Regions from separate parts of the Homo sapiens genome. Here all the other regions are linked to region 6. Evidence: promoter capture Hi-C in 16 types of primary human blood cells and fetal thymus (Javierre and others, 2016). All regions are on one chromosome and are shown on one strand. The core of a region is centred on a gene start or on the middle of the fragment in contact, and the rest is flanking DNA. Distances in the headings are between cores, read along the strand shown. Region 1 has its middle 1.8 kb from the start of GK5. Region 2 has its middle 55 kb from the start of GK5. Region 3 overlaps ZBTB38 (zinc finger and BTB domain containing 38). Region 4 overlaps RASA2 (RAS p21 protein activator 2). Region 5 holds the start of TFDP2 (transcription factor Dp-2). Region 6 holds the start of ATP1B3 (ATPase Na+/K+ transporting subunit beta 3).

Region 1 (2,700 bases), core at 32-2,531, 350 kb before region 6:
TAGTTAGACACACTGTATGCCCAGCTGTTCGGTCAAACACCAGTCTAGGTGTTGTTGTGAAGGTATTTCTTAGAAATAATTAACATTTAAATTAGTAGACTTTGAGTAAAGCAGATCACCCTTCATAACCTGGGTGAGTCTCATACAATTGGTTTTAAGCTTTAAGAACAAAGACAGGTTTCCCAAAGAAGGAAGTCTCCTCAAAACTGCAACATGGAAACTCTTCTTGAGTTTCCAGCCTGCTAGCCTGCCCCACAAATATCCAGGACTTGCCAGCCCTCACAATCACATGAAGCAATTCCTGAAAATAATAAACCTCTCTTTCTCTTTCTCTCTATCCTATTGTTTCTATTTCTCTGTAGAACCCTGACAAGTACTGGACCCATTAGTCATTTATTTCGAATTACAATAATTCACACACACACACGACCAAAATGGCCAGCACTGGTGAAGGCAGTCAGTCCTTGAGGCCACTTGGAACAAATCAGTACTGTTGAACAGGGTACAAAGAAAAAAAACATACTCTTCCAGGTGTATGTTCCAAGCTTCACGTTGTATGGCCAAAGAGCCAATTTTGTCAAATTGTCTGAAAGCAAGTTGATTAACACGACAATTTGGTCAAAAGAATGACTTGGCCCTGTGCAGTGGCTCACGCTTGTAATCCCAGCACTTTGGGAGGCCGTGGCGGGCGGATCACGAGGTCAGGAGATCCAGACCATCCTGGCTAACATGGTGAAACCCCGTCTCTACTAAAAATACAAAAATTAGCTGGGCATGGTGGAGAGGGCCTGTAGTCCCAGCAACTTGGGAGACTGAGGCAGGAGAATCGCTTGAATCCGGGAGGCGGAGGTTGCAGTGAGCCGAGATCGCAGCACTGCACTCCAGCCTGGGCAAACAAGGGCAAAACTCCGTCTCAAAAAAGAAAAAAAAAAAAAAAGAATGATTTGGCTGGGCACAATGGCTCACACCCATAATCCCAGCACTTTGGGAGACAAAGGTGGGAGGATCACTTGAGGCCAGGAGCTCAAGACCAGCCTGGCCAATATGGCGAAACAGAGTCTCTACAAAAAAATGCAAAAATTAGGCGGGCGTGGTGGTTGTAGTCCCAGCTACATGGGAGGCTAAGGCAGTTGGATCGCCTGAGCCCGGGAGGTCGAGGCTGCAGTGAGCTGAGATGGCACCACAGCACTCCAGCCTGGGCGACAGAGCAAGACCCTGTCTAAAAAAAGTTTTGATTCAAAATGAGTATGTATGTATGTATGTATGTAAGTATGTATGTATGTATGTATGTATGTATGTATGTATGTATGTATGTATTTTGAGGCAGAGTCTTGCTCTGTCGCCCAGGCTGGAGTGCAGTGGCATGATCTCGGCTCACTGCAACCTCCGCCTCCCGGCTTCAAGTAATTCTCCTGCCTCAGCCTCCCCCGTAGCTGGGATTGCAGGAGCCCGCTACCACGCCCGGCTAAGTTTTGTATTTTTGTAGAGACGGGGTTTCACCATGTTGCCCAGGCTGCTCTCAAACTCCTGACCTCAAGTGATCCGCCCGCCTCGGCCTCCGAAAGTGCTGGGATTACAGTCGTGAGCCCCCGCGCCCAGCCAAAATGATTATCTTTTACCTTTTAATTGACATACCAGTTGGCACTGTTAAACGTTTTCACACAAAACATATATTCATATGTTTGCTAATTTTACAAAAAGAAGATAAGGAATATTTTCAGGCCCCGGCTTCACAGATTGCTGGTGGCAGTGGAGAGGTGGGTGGCGCAGGTGGAACCACCTCCCCACTACTTGCAGATCAGGACCCTCCCCGGGAAAGCTCCAGGCCCAGGAACCTAAGCCGCAAGAATCTCGAAATTTCCACAGGACACCTTGTTCCTTTTGGCCAAGTGTCTGGATGAGCCCATCCCCTTGGGCAGCAACAAAAGGTAAAGGGTCTCTGTGAGGCTTTCAGATTCCAAAAAAAAGCAACCGCTGGAGTGGAGTGTGATGGTCAAAGCAGCCACCTTAAGCTTTCTCCTTTCTTTCCCACTAGAGGGCTGAGAAAAGTCTTCTTCCTTGCGTTGTATTTCATTTGGCAAATATTTACCGCTTTGTATTGTGTGCAAACTTTACCAGGTTTTCTGGGAAGAGAAGTCGTGGGGAGCTCTCAGTTTGTTAATAAATATTAATACTTTTGGCCAAATTTTGAATTTTTTATGTCACTTGTTTTATTTCATTTTTGAAAAACAGCACTTTATTTCATTTAACTCTAGCATATTCAATGGCTGTGCATTTAATAATACTGAAATAAAGTCGCACCCAAAATGTTAGCAAAAAAATGGAAACTATATATGGTAGTGACCTCTACAAATGTTTTAAGCTTGAAAAATTCTGCACGAACGCAGACACAGGTTAGTCTGCCAAAGTTACTCAGATAAAAATTTCTCCAACCCTCAAGTCATAATCATAGTTGAGAAATGAATAAATGTGCCTTATGGCACCTCCAAACTTTTTGAGATTTTTATATAAACTAGCCTATACTTCTCTCCTTACGATTAGCATATGGGGTAGCTATTTTTCTTTAACAGAGATTCTTCAAATGTAGCTAGGGTTAAGAGAAACGCTGGCGCTGCCTCTCAGGAAGCTGGAGAAGCAAAAGAAAAAATTAAGAGTTAAGGGCCGCCGGGCTCGGTGGCTCACGCCTGCAATCGCAGCAAT
Region 2 (2,700 bases), core at 21-2,520, 400 kb before region 6:
AACTGGTAAAAAACAAAACAAAACAAACAAAACACACACATAACTTTTACCCTTTTTTCAGCATGTCAGGCTTCTGGGTTCCTTTACCCCTAGCTCAACTCTAAGCCAAGCATTTTAAGGTTTGAGGAAATTAGCTCTTCCCAGGTTGGAAGAACATTATAAAAGAAGAGATAGAAGCCATTTTAAACAACGAAAGAAGGAAAATTACCACAGAAAAGTCTGGGAGTTCCAATTAGGATTGTCAAGAGGTGCTGCCTCTCTTCCTATTGGGAATGGTGTTTCCCCTATTTCTTCACATTCTCTATTTTCTCCTTTCCCTTTTGGCCTGCTGTAGGAAACATATTGCTCATCTCTGAAATGCTCTGCTGCCTGCAGAGCTGCCTGTTTTTCAGCTACGGTTAGGGTTTGGTTTAGGAGCAGCATAATATCACTTTATGAGAGGTTAAACACCTGAGTTAAATTTTGGAAAGCTTCTATATAACTATCAGAGTTGTCAGAAAATCGGCCTAAGTCTCCCTTTATTTACCTAAGGTCCTGTAATGATAAGGGAACTTTAGGGGGCCCCAAGTTAGGGGGATCCTCAGATGGTTCCCCCAGAAGTTGCTTCTCCAATTTTGGGGAATCATTCTCTATAGGCCTGTCTGATATGACTACTACAAGAGCTGGGTTGATTGTGCAATGCTTGCAAAGGTCTAGTAAGAAGGCCATGCCCTTGTGTAAAAGAAAGTGAGCCACTTTTCCTTCAAAGTCTCAGGGTTAAAGGAGTCCCTGTGCTTCAGGATGCACCCCAGAGGGGTGCAAGCTGAAGATGGTTTGTTACCCATTTAGAAAGAGAAGCAAGAAAAAGGCATCCCTTTTGTCTCCTTCCTTTTGGTGTGACCAAGTGTGGAGGAAAAGACAATGGGGGCGTCCTCTCTGCTGTTTTCCCTCCTTGGTTCCTAGGTCCTGGCACCTTGTTGAACACGCCACCCATGGTTGTAAGTGTGACCGCCCCCCAGCCATGGAACCAGAGGAACTAAGCAATTGAGATTAGTCACGCTTACCCATGTGACTCTAGTCCTCTGCCTGTGATTTCCCTTTGACTTCCTAGACTTGTGTGATCTGTGTGCCTCCCTGAAAAATGGATATTGGGAAGGACTACGTAATAGTTGCCTTTGGAGCTGGGCACAGTGGCTCATGCCTGTAATCCTAGCACTTTGGGAGGCTGAGTCATGTGGGTCACCTGAAGTCACCCAGGTTGGTTCGAGACCAACCTGGCCAACATGGCAAAACCCCATCTCTACTAAAAATACAAAAATTAGCCAGTCTTAGGCCGGTTATGGTGGCTCACGCCTGTAATCCCAGAACTCTGGGAGGCCGAGGTGGGCGGATCACGAGGTCAGGAGATCGAGACCATCCTGGCTAACACAGTGAAACTCCATCTCTACTAAAAAAAAAAAAAAAATTAGCCGGGCGTGGTGGTGGGCGCCTGTAATCCCAGCTACTTGGGAGGCTGATGCAGGAGAATGGTGTGAACCTGGGAGGTGGAGCTTGCAGTGAGCCGAGATCACACCACTCCACTCCAGCCTGGGCGACAGAGCAAGACTCCATCTCAAAAAAAAAAAAAAAAATTAACCTGTCTTGGTGGCAGGCACCTATAATTCCAGCTACTCAGGAGGTTGAGGGGGGAGAATCACTTGAACCCAGGGCGCAGAGGTTGCAGTGAGCCAAGATTGGACCACTTCACTCCATCCTGAGTGAAAGAGCAAAAACTCCATCTCAAAAAAAAAAAAAAAAAGGTCGTTGCCTTTGGAGGGTATTAGATTGAACTCCATATTTTGCTATTATGGCCCATGCTGAAGCATTTCCCCCTAGAGAATGGTTCTCATTAACTTCTGGACTTAAAATCCCCTTAATAAGTATTGCTTTAACTGGAGACATAAATAGGTGACTTAAAGGAACATAGGGACCTAATAGTGATTTTCCTGCTGATGGGACAGTATTGGAACTAAAATTTGGTTCTGGAGGACATTTTGCTCCTAATTGTTGAATGCAGAGTTTTCCCATCCACAGAAGCAGCATAAAGCTTGGTCTCTAGTAGAGAGGTGCAAAATGGGAGAAGAAGTGGGAAGGTACAGTGTTATGTCAAAGGACCGACAACGCCTCATGGAGATGATTTTTAGTTCACTAGGTGGCGATATTGACCTTAAAATGCCACGTGCTCTCCAGCTCAAGGGCAGAGAGTGACCTGGAGATGCCATGTGCTTTCCAGATCAAGGGCAGAGGGTGAAATGCTCACTGTGGGAGAAGACTTTCTGTTCCTAGGAAATCACAATGGCATTCCCCTGAGCTATATTCCAGTTACTACAGCATTTCCTGATCTTTCCTAACAGGATTACTTCCCTGAACTATAAAAATTCCTGCACATTGCATGCAGAGAAAATAGGAGACATGGTGACCATGGATAGAAGAGGAGGAAAATTTTGTAACAGGATAGCTAGAGATCCTTTTTGCCAGCACTCAGATGGGTGGCCAAAGGCTGGGTTCAACCCAGAAGCCTCTGGATAACACCAGGGTGTGCCCTGGCCAGAAATCCTTAGTTGCTCCAGGACCTCTCCCAGCCCCATGCAATGGCTGGGAGTGTGACCCCCCCAGCCATGGAACCAGAGGAACTAAGCGATTGAGTTCCATGAAAGGAAACTGGTTTGAAGCATTTTTAAA
Region 3 (2,700 bases), core at 184-2,683, 460 kb after region 6:
ACTCACTGAGTTTTTATCGGTTCCGGTATCCTGAGCTGACATCATGCTCCTTCCTGGGTTACAGTATGTGGGAGTTGACATCATGCTCCATCACTGTGTCACACAAATACAACAGTTCCAAAAAACAGATCATAGAAATAGGGCCTGGACCATCCAGCTGTCAGGTATTCAAAACAATAGGGTCAACACCATGAAGCATCTCCACCAAGATCACAAGTACCCACAAGGAATCCTCAGAACTGCTCAATGAAAATGGTGGCTAAACCCAGGAAGCAGATTTCAGCTTTAGAGACATCAGGGGGATGTGCAGCTGATTCCTCAGTCTGGGGAGCATTCTGACCGTCTGGGGTGTGAGGACCTCCTGCAGGAAGGTGGCTGAGGCTCTCGGCCGGCTGGGTCTTCCCCACCTCCTCCCCACTGTCAACAGACACCTGGCTCCAGGCGCAAAATACCAGCGTACAGAGATCATCTGTATGGGCCTGGGCCCTCAGATATTTATTTAAGTCCACGTACACACTTTCCCTGCACAAACATTTTCTTCTTCCCCATTTCCCACAATTCCTCCTCCCATGTTTCCAGTTTGAAGCCACTGCTGGCAACACTACGACCTCTGGAGGGAGGCCAGGCCTGGCAGCACAGAGCTCGAAGGCAGCACAGGATTGTGAAAGTCGCCTCTTCATAGGCTCAGGAGACGCAGGCGCTTGGCAGAGCTGTCCGGCAAGCCCACCAGTAGGTCTGAGGTACAAAGAGAGGCACAAAGGCTTTCCTACTATGGAAAAGCGACAAAAACTCTGGCCAGTGTTTCAAATGGATGAACAATGGTTCAGATAAAAAAAAAAAACCGAGTGGAAAAAATTGTGGGAGGGAGAAAGAATATTAAGGGAGCTAAGTTCCAGTGAGCTGTTGCCAATTTCACCCCAAAAGAAAGGTAATAGAAACAGAAGGAAAGTTTCTGGCAGTAGTCAGGTGCCTACATAGTTCCCCTATTCACCTGGTTTAGGGTAGAATTATCTGAGCAGAAGGAGCAATGATGTTGGTAAATAAGTTGTCTACATTAAAAAATAATTAAAACTCCCCAAACAAACTCCAAACCACTGCAGGTAAACACTCGCAATATGTTGTTTAGAAAAATTATGCTTTAAATATACTGATCTAAAAAAAAAAAAATCAAAAGAACAGACTGTTCTGTAGAATAGCTTGAGTTTCTGCCTGTGCTTTCATTTTAGAAAACAAATGCTCGTAGACCTCACAGTGGGAGGAGTTTCACACAGGGATTCAGCTCGCAGAAAATGGCCACCGGCTTTGAGAGACCTTAACACAACAAACAGGGCACCCAAGAGACCTTTTGGGAATACGAGGCACTTGCCTTTCACAAGGGTAATCGTCTAGAGATACACAAAACCATTTTTTTTTCTTCCCGACCAGTAACATAAATCATAGCTTCCAAAGTATTTGTTTACAGAATACCACAGTGACTAATTACCAGAACTTTTCTTATTCTCTCTGAGCAAAGGAACCTCATGGGAGAAAAAAAATATAGGTCATTTTTAATGTAAGGGAGTTGCTAGGATTGGAGGTTAAGACAACTATTTAAACTTCATAAAAGGAAAAACAAAAGACCTCAAAAAGTATTTTCTAAAATAGAGAAAGGTGCAAATCTTCTTATCAGAAACGCATTATAAATAGAAAAGAAACTCTTAAAAGAGATTCTTCAAATGTGACAAAAAGCTCTTGGTTTCCTGAAAATGTCAAAAACAAAAACAAATATTGACAATACTAAATATCCAACAGACAGGGTAAGAACTTCACTTAGAAGCAAATTTCCATTTAGGTAATTTATGGTGCTTCTGTGCAAAAAGTTGCTTTACACTGTGTAGTCGCTGAAGACACTCCAGAATTGCTAGACCTTCACAGGAAAAATTTTAAAGGTCAGGGTTTTTTTTCTTTCCCTAGTTAGCACAGCACTCAGGGGCAGCCAGTTCTCTAACGTCTGAGTAAAACCCTACACAGGGCTTCATTTCAGTGCCACGTCATGGCTTTTGCAGACTATCTTCTTGCCTCCGCTTCCTCAAAGTGGTCCTTCTGTCCCCTCCCATTAAAGCAAAGGTGGAACTTGCATTAATTCAAGGGAAGGGCTGAACACACTACAGAAGGCATGGTTCAGCCACAGGCACCGGTTATGGCTGTAACCACTGTAAATCTCTTCCACGAAAGAGCATCAAAGACCTGCACAGAGACCTTGAGAAACCTTGCTCTTTGGGCTCAAGTCAGGGACTATAAGACCAGACTAAATAGGTTTAAGCAGGGACAGATCAGAATGCTGAGTAGGTTTTTCAAAAAGGAAATCCTCATTTAGGTGTCTAGGAGCCAATCACTGTGCTATTAAAACTAATCGGAAATCTCCATGCTTACATGAAAACGCACAAAAGTATGGGGAGACTGATCTGAATATGTGGGTCTCCCTTGCCTGGCAAGATAATGAATTCATCTTTGTTTGGACTGAATTGGTGGTCTTATTATCTAATTGTCATCAACTCTACAAACAGTCAGTTGTTCTAACACATGAACAGGAAAAATAACATAAATAAAACAGGGCCTAGAAACAATATCCAACTCACAAAGCAGGAAGTGACAGCTCATATCTGTCTCACCTTGCACAAAGCCTGCCTTCACGGGTTGCTGAAATAATCCCAAGATACC
Region 4 (2,700 bases), core at 161-2,660, 290 kb after region 6:
CATTACCAGGACTCTTCTTTTTTTTTTTCAAGTTCAGTTTTATACTGACTCCATCATTTTCTGTTCCCCTTCTTTACTTCTTTTTTTTCCTCAAAAAGAGTTCTTTATCTATTTTTAAAAAGGCAACTTCATGCCCAAATCCTTGGAATTATCCTTAACTTGCCTTTTTCTCTCACTCCCAGTATCTAACTCCTCTGGGTACTATTTTTCAAATAGATTCAGAATGTGATCCATTTTTATCATTTCTACTGCTACCAACAGATCCAAGCCATTCTCTTTTCTCCTCTAGAATATTTTAGTAGTCTCTTAACTGCTCTCCTTGTGCCCTTCATTCATTCTCCATGTAACACTCCACAGACATAAGTTACCCTATTAAGACATAAGTTAAACAATGTTATTCTTCTGCTTAAACCTCTCCAATGTCTTTCCATTTTACTCAAAGTAAAAGCCCACAAGGTCCTATAAAATCTAGCACTTCTATGATCTTTTTGATCTTAGTTCCTATGACTTACCCTCTTCTTCAATTTTCCAGCCACAAGAGCTTTCTCTTATCTCTTTAACACTCCAGGCATGCTTCTATTTCAAGGCATTTGTTCTGGGTGCTGTTAGCTATTTCTGTGACACTTTTATCCCAAATATCCACATGGTTCACTCCCCGACCATCTTTAGATTTAGGTCTTTGCTCAAATGTCACTTTCTCAGTGAAGCCTTCCCTGGTTAGACCTTTTAATATTTTAACTCACCTCACTGAACCCATCATTTTCTGTACCTTGTCCCTGCTTCTTTTTTGTTCATCTGATTTATTATAATCCAACATAAATATAATTTTCTTTTTTTTACTGTTTATTGTCTTAGTAAAGATCTATAAGGACAGGGATTTGGTATGTTTTGTTTACTATTTTTCTCTCCAGAGCCTAGAACAGTGTCTGGTACATAGTAGGCACTCAATAAAATACCTGTTGAATAAATGCATGATTGAATCAATGATGTATTTTGTTCTTTAGCTATCAGAAAAAAAAAAAGCTGCAGAGCCCTGTATGTGAAAATACAGGTAGGTGAAAACCGTGTCAACTTCAGTGTATTGAACATTTATGTTTAAAATATCATGGACATTTCTTTTACAATGTCCACTGGCTATATGAGCTAGGGTAGGGCTGGCTATATAAGCTAGGGCATTTAATGTCACATGAAAGTTGTGTGTATGTATATGTGTATAACAGGTCTCCCCAAAGTAGACAATATCTAATTAAATTCTACAGAACAGAATTTCAAAGATGAATTAGTATGCCTGGCAGAAATTTTAGAAAGACAAGTAGTTCGTAACGTAATTCAGATGACAGCATATATGGAAGACATGGTGTTCTTTGAAGAATACTTACTATATGCCTTTATGCCACTAGTAATAATATGGTCCTTACCACTGAGGATCTTAAAGACTAGGGGAAGAGATGGACAAAAGTAATGACCACACAGTAATGCCACGTAGCTGAAGATACACAGTAAGGGAATGGCTACACTGAGGTAGCCATATGAGGCTTACAATGGCTTCCATAAAGAGCTGACACTTGATCTAAGACTTAAAGGACAACAGATTACACAGGTAAAGGAGAAAATAAAGGAATTTTTAGGTAGATATTTTTATGTACATATGCAAAAGCATGAATGTAAAAGCATGCAAAAGATGTAAAGAAGGCACTGCAAAAAGTAGTCTGGTGAAACTACATATGGATACTGCAAAAGATGAGGCTGAATGAGACATAAAGAGGCTAGAACATCAATAACTAGTTTGATCTCCGCATATAACTAAGAGAACTTTTACTTGTAGAAGATGACTAAATTATAGTATAGCAATATAAAATCATAATTGTAAGTACACAGGGCCATAAAAATCTCTCAAGGTAATCATGACTGATGGCTGAGTGTCTGATAATATTCATTTGCTACATGTTAATTTAACTCTACTGATTAGTTGCTTACTATTGCCTGTTAGCACTTGCCTAAAGGGGCCTCAAAAATTTAAAAACTTATTGAAGAAAAATCCTTAATACAGAGAAAATTCTACTAATTCATTTTCCAGTAAATTGGGAAAAGACTATGCATATTATTTGACACTAAGTGACAGAAATACTTGATTCACAATACTACTGTATATTAGGAAGAGAGAGTGAAAGACTCAATGATTTAGGTCTATGTTACAGGAAATTTGGGAGGTATTCTTTCAGACACCAAAGTCACATAGTAAGTGTAGCAAAAGACTAATTAACTAGCAAGTCTTGGCTACCTAGAAAACAGCAGGGAAATTGGAAGTAAGCAAAACATTTGCTCAACAACCAAACAGAGAATGCAAAGCCCAGGTATTTTATTTACAGGAGAAAGTCCTGACGTTTTCATTCAAAGCCTTTTAATCTTAGGCATAATTTAAACAAACATAGCACTTGCATCCTCACTTATAGGACACTACTGTAAAAAATAGAGGTGGGTGATGGGATGGGAATAAGGTGTTATATTATGGTTCACAGACATCACAAGAAATTTAAGGCCACAGCCTTACCACAAAGGATACAGAAAAACTGTATAAAGCGAACATAGGAACACAAAAAGCACAGCAGTCCAAGGCATTTAGCTGCGGAGTAAATGCATTTAGCTGGAGTAAACAGTTGCACACACCTTTAAGCAGCCCTGAAAATATCACTAAATCAG
Region 5 (2,700 bases), core at 115-2,614, 270 kb before region 6:
AATTGTCTCTCCACCCTGCCCCAGAGAAAGATCTGAAAGTGCTCTCTTACCTATCTCATCTCCTTTAGGCATTTGCTTAAATACCACCTTCTCCGTGCTACCTTCCCAGATCACTCTATTTAGGACTGAAGCCATTCCTCCAACACCTCTGCTTATATTTTTTTCCCATAGCACACATACCAGCATGTAATATAGTTTTTGTTTTACGTATTCTTTTGCATATTATCTTTCCCATCCTGCTAGAATGTAAGCTCCATGAAGGCAGGAGTTTTTGTCTCTATTTTGTCCACTGATGTCTCCCCATATCAAGAATAGTGTTTGGGGCCGGGCGTGGTGGCTCACGCCTGTAATCCCACCACTTTGGGAGGCCCAGGCGGGAGGATCTCTTGAGTCCAGGAGTTCCAAACCAGCCTGGGAAACATGGCGAAACAGCCGGGTGTGGTGGCGCGGGCCTGTAGTCCCAGCTACTCGGGAGGCTGTGGTGGTAGGATCACCTGAGACTGGGAAGTCAGGGCTCCAATGAGCCGTGATCCTGCCACCGCACTCCAGCCTCGGTGAGAGCAAGACCCCGTCTCAAAAACAAACAAAGTGGCATATAGAAGATCTATAAGATTTGACTGGAGTAAAATGAGAAAGATCTAATCGTTTTAATGCGCTGTTCACACGGGGTTTTTAACTTCGGCACGAACGAATGAACAAAATCTTTTCATATGGAACCAAGTGTACGGGTATTTGGGGTGTGTGCAGTTTCCGCGGGACAGAATGACCTGTCCTGGTTTGGGTATTAACTTGCCTTGATATTGAAGAACCTCCACATTCCCAGTGGTCTCTAACTCATTGTCTGAATAATTTCAAGGTGTCCCACAGTTGGCCCCACGCATAGCCTCAATCACGATCACTCGCCCCCCTGTCCCTTATTGATGCTCCCCCAGGGCGACCCCGCAAAGGCCTGGGGACCGAATGGAACTGCCCCAGTCCCCCTCCTTCCAAGAGAGCTGGGGTTTTCTGGCTTCGGGGTCAGTTGGAAAAGAGATTCCCACCCAAGTCGCAGGGTGGGAGTAGGGGGGATGAGATAGGAGTGATGAAGGAAGTGTGTCTAAAATTCTAGGCCTCAGGCCCGCAGCTGTCCCTGGAGGCGGCGGGGAAGCGGGGTGGTCGGGTCCTGCGGAGGGCTCCCAGGGAGGCCACAGGGGGAACCAAGGGGCGGTGGCTGAGTGCACGAGTCCCGCCCCTCCATCTGTTGGCCCCCTACTCTCAAAGGGAAGCCTGGGGGCGGGGTTTGTTTACTCCGTGCACGCACTGCCGGCCCGGCCAATCCGTGGGGAGCGGCGCCAGGCGTCGCACATTCTGAGGGCCAATCGGCGCGCACTGTGCTGCTCCGCCGCCAAAGCTCGCGCGGGGGAAGCGGGGCTGTAGCTGGGCAGGGAGAGGGCGGACGAAATCGGTAGCGATCTCGGCTGCGGCGCTGCCGCAGCTGCCCGGCCCGCGGGGCGCGCCCTGACCCTTCATCTTTGGGCAGGCTCGAGGGCGCGCGCACGGTTGGCGTTCTGGGGCCTCAAACTCCTGGGCCTTGACCGGGCAGGCCGCGTCTCCCCGGGTGTGAGTCCACCGGGACCCGGCCGCCGCCTAAGCGCGGGCGCCACAGAAGCGGCGGCGCCCGAAGACGCGCTCCTGGCTCGGCCCGACAGCCTCGCTTGGCCGCCAGTTCTTCTGCAGCCGAAGGCGGTAAGGTCTGGGGCGAGGGCGCGGGCCCGCGCGCGGAGGGCCTTTGGACCCGGCCGGGCGCGTTCCTGGGTAGGTTTCCCTCCCTGCGCACAGGGGCCCCCTTGTTCCCCCACGAGTCCCATCTGTTTAGACCTGGGTTCTCCAGGCCTGGCCGGGTAACCCGTGAGTGTCTGGGCCAGAGTCGAAAGCAGAGGAGGGTCACCCTCTTAGTGCATAGAGCAAATCGGGGGAGGTAACGTCCCTGAGTCACGCCTCGTGGAAGAGGGGAAGGGCTGCTTTCTACTTTCTCGTTCTCTTCAAAGAAGGATGGCTTCTAAATCTGGTTTTCCGATTTTTCCCTTCTCCTTTCATGACTCACAGGCCTCTGTGTCCACCAGGTGTTTTGTTTGTTTTTAAAGAGTTTCTAAGCTTTGTGTGCTTGGAAGAACCTCATATGCCCCATAAAGGAACTTTTCTCTGAAGTAGAGGATCGCTTTTTGGGCCCAGACTCCTTTGAGAAAATCTGGAAAGCCAAGGTCTGTCTTCACAAAGAAGTGTAAGGGTTTTCCTAGGATCTCGCTGAGAGACAGTACAACGAAGTGGATGAGCGCCCCAGTCTCTCTTACCAGCCTGTGCTATCTCCCATTGTGTGATCTCGGTTTCTTCATCTGTAAATTAGATGCATCCACCTATTCGGTGTGTTTCGGGGAGTGAATGGACTAATGTATGGAATGCAATCGTAAGAAAATCCTCCACGTATTAAATGCCTTGCATTAGTTAGGCACTTTTATTATTGACTGCCATGGATGCTGGTTTAGAAAAAGACCCTATATTATTTCCCTTTTAGTGTTGAGACAGTGAACGGGCTCATTCCTTTTCCATATTCACTGCTGAAGCTGCCTTTGAGCCCATGAATACTTTTATCTTTTCCTCATTCCATCTCAGAGGGCACAGACTCCCTCTCACTTATTTGCTTTCTTTCAGTAAGGCTCTCTT
Region 6 (2,700 bases), core at 74-2,573:
AATAGTTCTAAGCTCTCGAGATTTATTCCCACTCAGAAAGAAATGGTCTTTCAAGACCCACTAACAAAATGTTTCAAAAGGATTTAAAAAGGTAAAATTAGTTTACTTAAGTATAAAGGCAAAAAAAAAAAAAAGCTCTAGCCTGCATTCAGAGATTGATACAATTTTAGGAAAAAAAGGCATCCTAAAGCTACTCTACACGGTAGATGGTTTAAATATATTAAAACAAAGAGCTCACGCATAGAAAAAATCTGCTAACATACAACCATCACTCTCCTGTTTTGAAGACACGGGAAAAAAAAAAAAAACCTGTGTTGTTCAGACAGGATTTACTTTCCCCAAAGAAGCAAATTTGTAAGGAAGAAAACCTCTGTAATTAAAAAGGAATCCGGGAGGAACCAACCTTTTTAAGGGCCTTTTCACTGTCCAAATTCAAGTGCATTTTCTTGTACAATGTACTTCTGTGATTAACTCACCGCTACACGTTTAAGCAACCCACACCCACACTTAACACTCAGTCGCACTCTTCCGACCGGTCGGGGTGGCAGCGTGGACGAGTCACAAGATAGCGGCGGGAGTGGAAATTTCCTCTCCCCTGGAGTGGGGCAGGGTCTGGCTTCTCCGAACCGCTCAGCGGGCCGGGCGCCTCCGCCAGGGCCTCTCGGGCCGGAGCGCTCCGTACAAAGGAGGCCCGGGGGCTCGGCTCCTGCACTCTCGGGGCCCGGCTTCGGGCAGGGGTCCCCGGCTTCCGGCGCCGCGCCGGGCGGGAGGCCCGGGCAGCACGTGCGCCCCGCTCCCAGCAGGGAGGGAGGAACCAGCGCGGCCCGGCCGGGCTGCCCGCGGGCCCCGCTGCTTCGGGAGCGAGCTGCGGCCAGTCCGGCCGGCCCGGGGAGCAATGAATGGGGCCGCACTGCGCCGCCGCCGCCCGGGTTAGGGTCGGGCGGTCGGGAGCCCCGGCGCTGGGAGCCGCCTCCCGCCTTTCCGTTCCCACCAGACCGCGCCCGGCGCCCCCGGGACCGAGGCCGGCCCCGGACGCCCAGCTGCTGCCCGCTCACCCCAGCTCTTGGCGGTGCGCCCCAGGAATTCTCCGGTGGTCGGGTTGTAGATGAAGAGCTTCCACTCGGCCAGGCTCTGGTTGAGGGACTTCTTCTCGTTCTTCGTCATGGTGTGCGCGCGGACGGCGAGAGGAGCTGCGGCCGCGGGGATGGAGGCGGCGAGGGCTGCGGAGGCGCGTCCCGGCTCCGGCGGCGCAGCCCGGAGACGGCAGTGAAGGGTGGGACGGCCGAGAACACCTCCTCGTTACGGGGAGTACTCGAGCCGACTGCGCCGCGCCGCGCCGGGCGGCCGCTTGGGCCGCGGGAGCCTGACGTCTCCGCCCGCCGCAGCCAATCCCCGCGCCGCTCGGCCCGCGCCGCTGCCGCCTCCCGCCAGCGGCCGGGGCGCTGCCTGAGGCGGCGAGGGCGCCCCACCCCGCCCCGGCCCCGCCCCGCAGTAGCCTCGGGGGCTCCCTCAGCCTGGGTCAGAGGAAGCGAGAAGAAAGTCTAAAAATCCGAAGGTTTAGTCGCACGCACGTTTATAATAATAGCAAAAGGCGGGCGTCCCCGCGCCGCAGGTTGCTTAGGAGGAGGACTGGGTTTCCTGGGCGTTCCTGGGCGCCGGGGCGCTGAGAAGATGCTACCCGCGGCGGGCGGGTGCGGAGAGCACGAAAACGACTCCAGTCGGCCCGCGGCTTCCTCTCTGAGGGAACTTAATCGTCCCCTCCCCGAACTGCCTCCCCGACCGTCCCCAGGCGTTCTCTGGGCTCTGTGACGTTCCTACAGGACGCTCTCTGGGCTCTGTGACGTTCCTACAGGACGCTCTCTGGGCTCTGTGACGTTCCTACAGGACGCTCTCTGGGCTCTGTGACGTTCCTACAGGACGCTCTGCGGGGGATCGCGCGGGGCTCCCACAATGTACACGGTGCACTGCTGTTCTGAGAACGTCCTCGCTTGGCTCCCTTGAAGGGTTCAACCGGGAGCCTCGGGTCAATGGGAATTCCGTTCTAAATATGCCAGTGAATGGAGTATAATTTTTCTCGGGATTCAGTTGAATTTATCAATGAAATCTAAATACGTGCTTTCCCAAGGGTCCTGGCAACTGAAAGCTCCCAGCTTTTGCCCAGACGCTCCTACTCTTAACCCACAGGAAAGGAACACTCGTTGGAGGGTCCACGCCTGTGTAGTGTCGCCGGCTTTTCATCTCCCCTGTAGAGATCGCGGCCCTTGGGCGGAGCTGAGGGTGCCGGTAGCGTTTTCCTCCGCGAGATGGAGCTGACGAGTACGGGAGGGGGGGTGCCCTCAGACTCAGCGACAGGATAAAAGACTTTATAGGAATTTGCACAGAAGGTGCGGGGTGGGGGAGGTTGTTGTTGTTGTTGTTTATTTATTTATTTTTAGAAAAAAGCTCTGCCTCCGTTTTATTAGCAAATAAAAATTATGGAGAAATGTAATAGCCATCTTATTGTTTGGAGTGATGAATTATAATCTGTCTGGAAGTTTAAACAGCCTGCAAATGGATGAATTTTCCTTTTTCCTCACTTTTCTTACCAAAGCAAGAAATAATGAATTATACCTCCCACAAATGGAAAAGTGGTAAAATATATTCCTATAAAGTGCTTTTTTCACGCTTAAAAAAGCTAAATTTATAATTATGACATTGAAA

The links. Contacts are between HindIII fragments. The CHiCAGO score rates a contact against its expected background, and 5 or more counts as called.
Region 1: a contact is called between a fragment that was not itself captured here and the fragment with the promoter of ATP1B3 in region 6, in 1 of 17 cell types (fetal thymus). The highest score is 5.8, in fetal thymus.
Region 2: a fragment that was not itself captured here is called in contact with the fragment with the promoter of ATP1B3 in region 6 in 1 of 17 cell types (fetal thymus); the score reaches 5.0 in fetal thymus.
Region 3: a contact is called between a fragment that was not itself captured here and the fragment with the promoter of ATP1B3 in region 6, in 1 of 17 cell types (naive CD4 T cells). The highest score is 5.5, in naive CD4 T cells.
Region 4: a contact is called between a fragment that was not itself captured here and the fragment with the promoter of ATP1B3 in region 6, in 15 of 17 cell types (M0 macrophages, endothelial precursors, M2 macrophages and 12 more). The highest score is 12.1, in M0 macrophages.
Region 5: a contact is called between the fragment with the promoter of TFDP2 here and the fragment with the promoter of ATP1B3 in region 6, in 1 of 17 cell types (fetal thymus). The highest score is 5.4, in fetal thymus.

Annotation. Positions count from the first base shown.
Region 1 is chr3:142,226,015-142,228,714 of GRCh38, reverse strand. No RefSeq gene overlaps it. Among named protein-coding and RNA genes, the nearest start is that of GK5, 1.8 kb to the right of the region's middle. The HindIII fragment of the contact is 1,467 bases long and covers 548-2,014 here.
Region 2 is chr3:142,279,658-142,282,357 of GRCh38, reverse strand. No RefSeq gene overlaps it. Among named protein-coding and RNA genes, the nearest start is that of GK5, 55 kb to the right of the region's middle. The HindIII fragment of the contact is 1,595 bases long and covers 473-2,067 here.
Region 3 is chr3:141,410,946-141,413,645 of GRCh38, reverse strand. The region is part of intron 5 of ZBTB38 (zinc finger and BTB domain containing 38); the gene reads right to left. Among named protein-coding and RNA genes, the nearest start is that of ZBTB38, 44 kb to the right of the region's middle. The HindIII fragment of the contact is 3,130 bases long and covers 1-2,700 here.
Region 4 is chr3:141,590,205-141,592,904 of GRCh38, reverse strand. All of the region lies in intron 19 of RASA2 (RAS p21 protein activator 2), which reads right to left. Among named protein-coding and RNA genes, the nearest start is that of RASA2-IT1, 66 kb to the right of the region's middle. The HindIII fragment of the contact is 2,889 bases long and covers 1-2,700 here.
Region 5 is chr3:142,148,208-142,150,907 of GRCh38, reverse strand. TFDP2 (transcription factor Dp-2) reads left to right here and starts at 1,364. Exons shown (of 13, transcript NM_001178139.2): 1 at 1,364-1,725. RefSeq lists silencers at 1,089-1,138, 1,249-1,458, 1,519-1,588, 1,819-1,868 and an enhancer at 1,219-1,719. The HindIII fragment of the contact is 3,426 bases long and covers 1-2,135 here.
Region 6 is chr3:141,875,266-141,877,965 of GRCh38, reverse strand. ATP1B3 (ATPase Na+/K+ transporting subunit beta 3) reads right to left here and starts at 1,323. Exons shown (of 7, transcript NM_001679.4): 1 at 1,056-1,323. The coding sequence starts at 1,164. RefSeq lists silencers at 529-1,098, 1,369-1,498, 2,369-2,428. The HindIII fragment of the contact is 6,749 bases long and covers 1-2,700 here.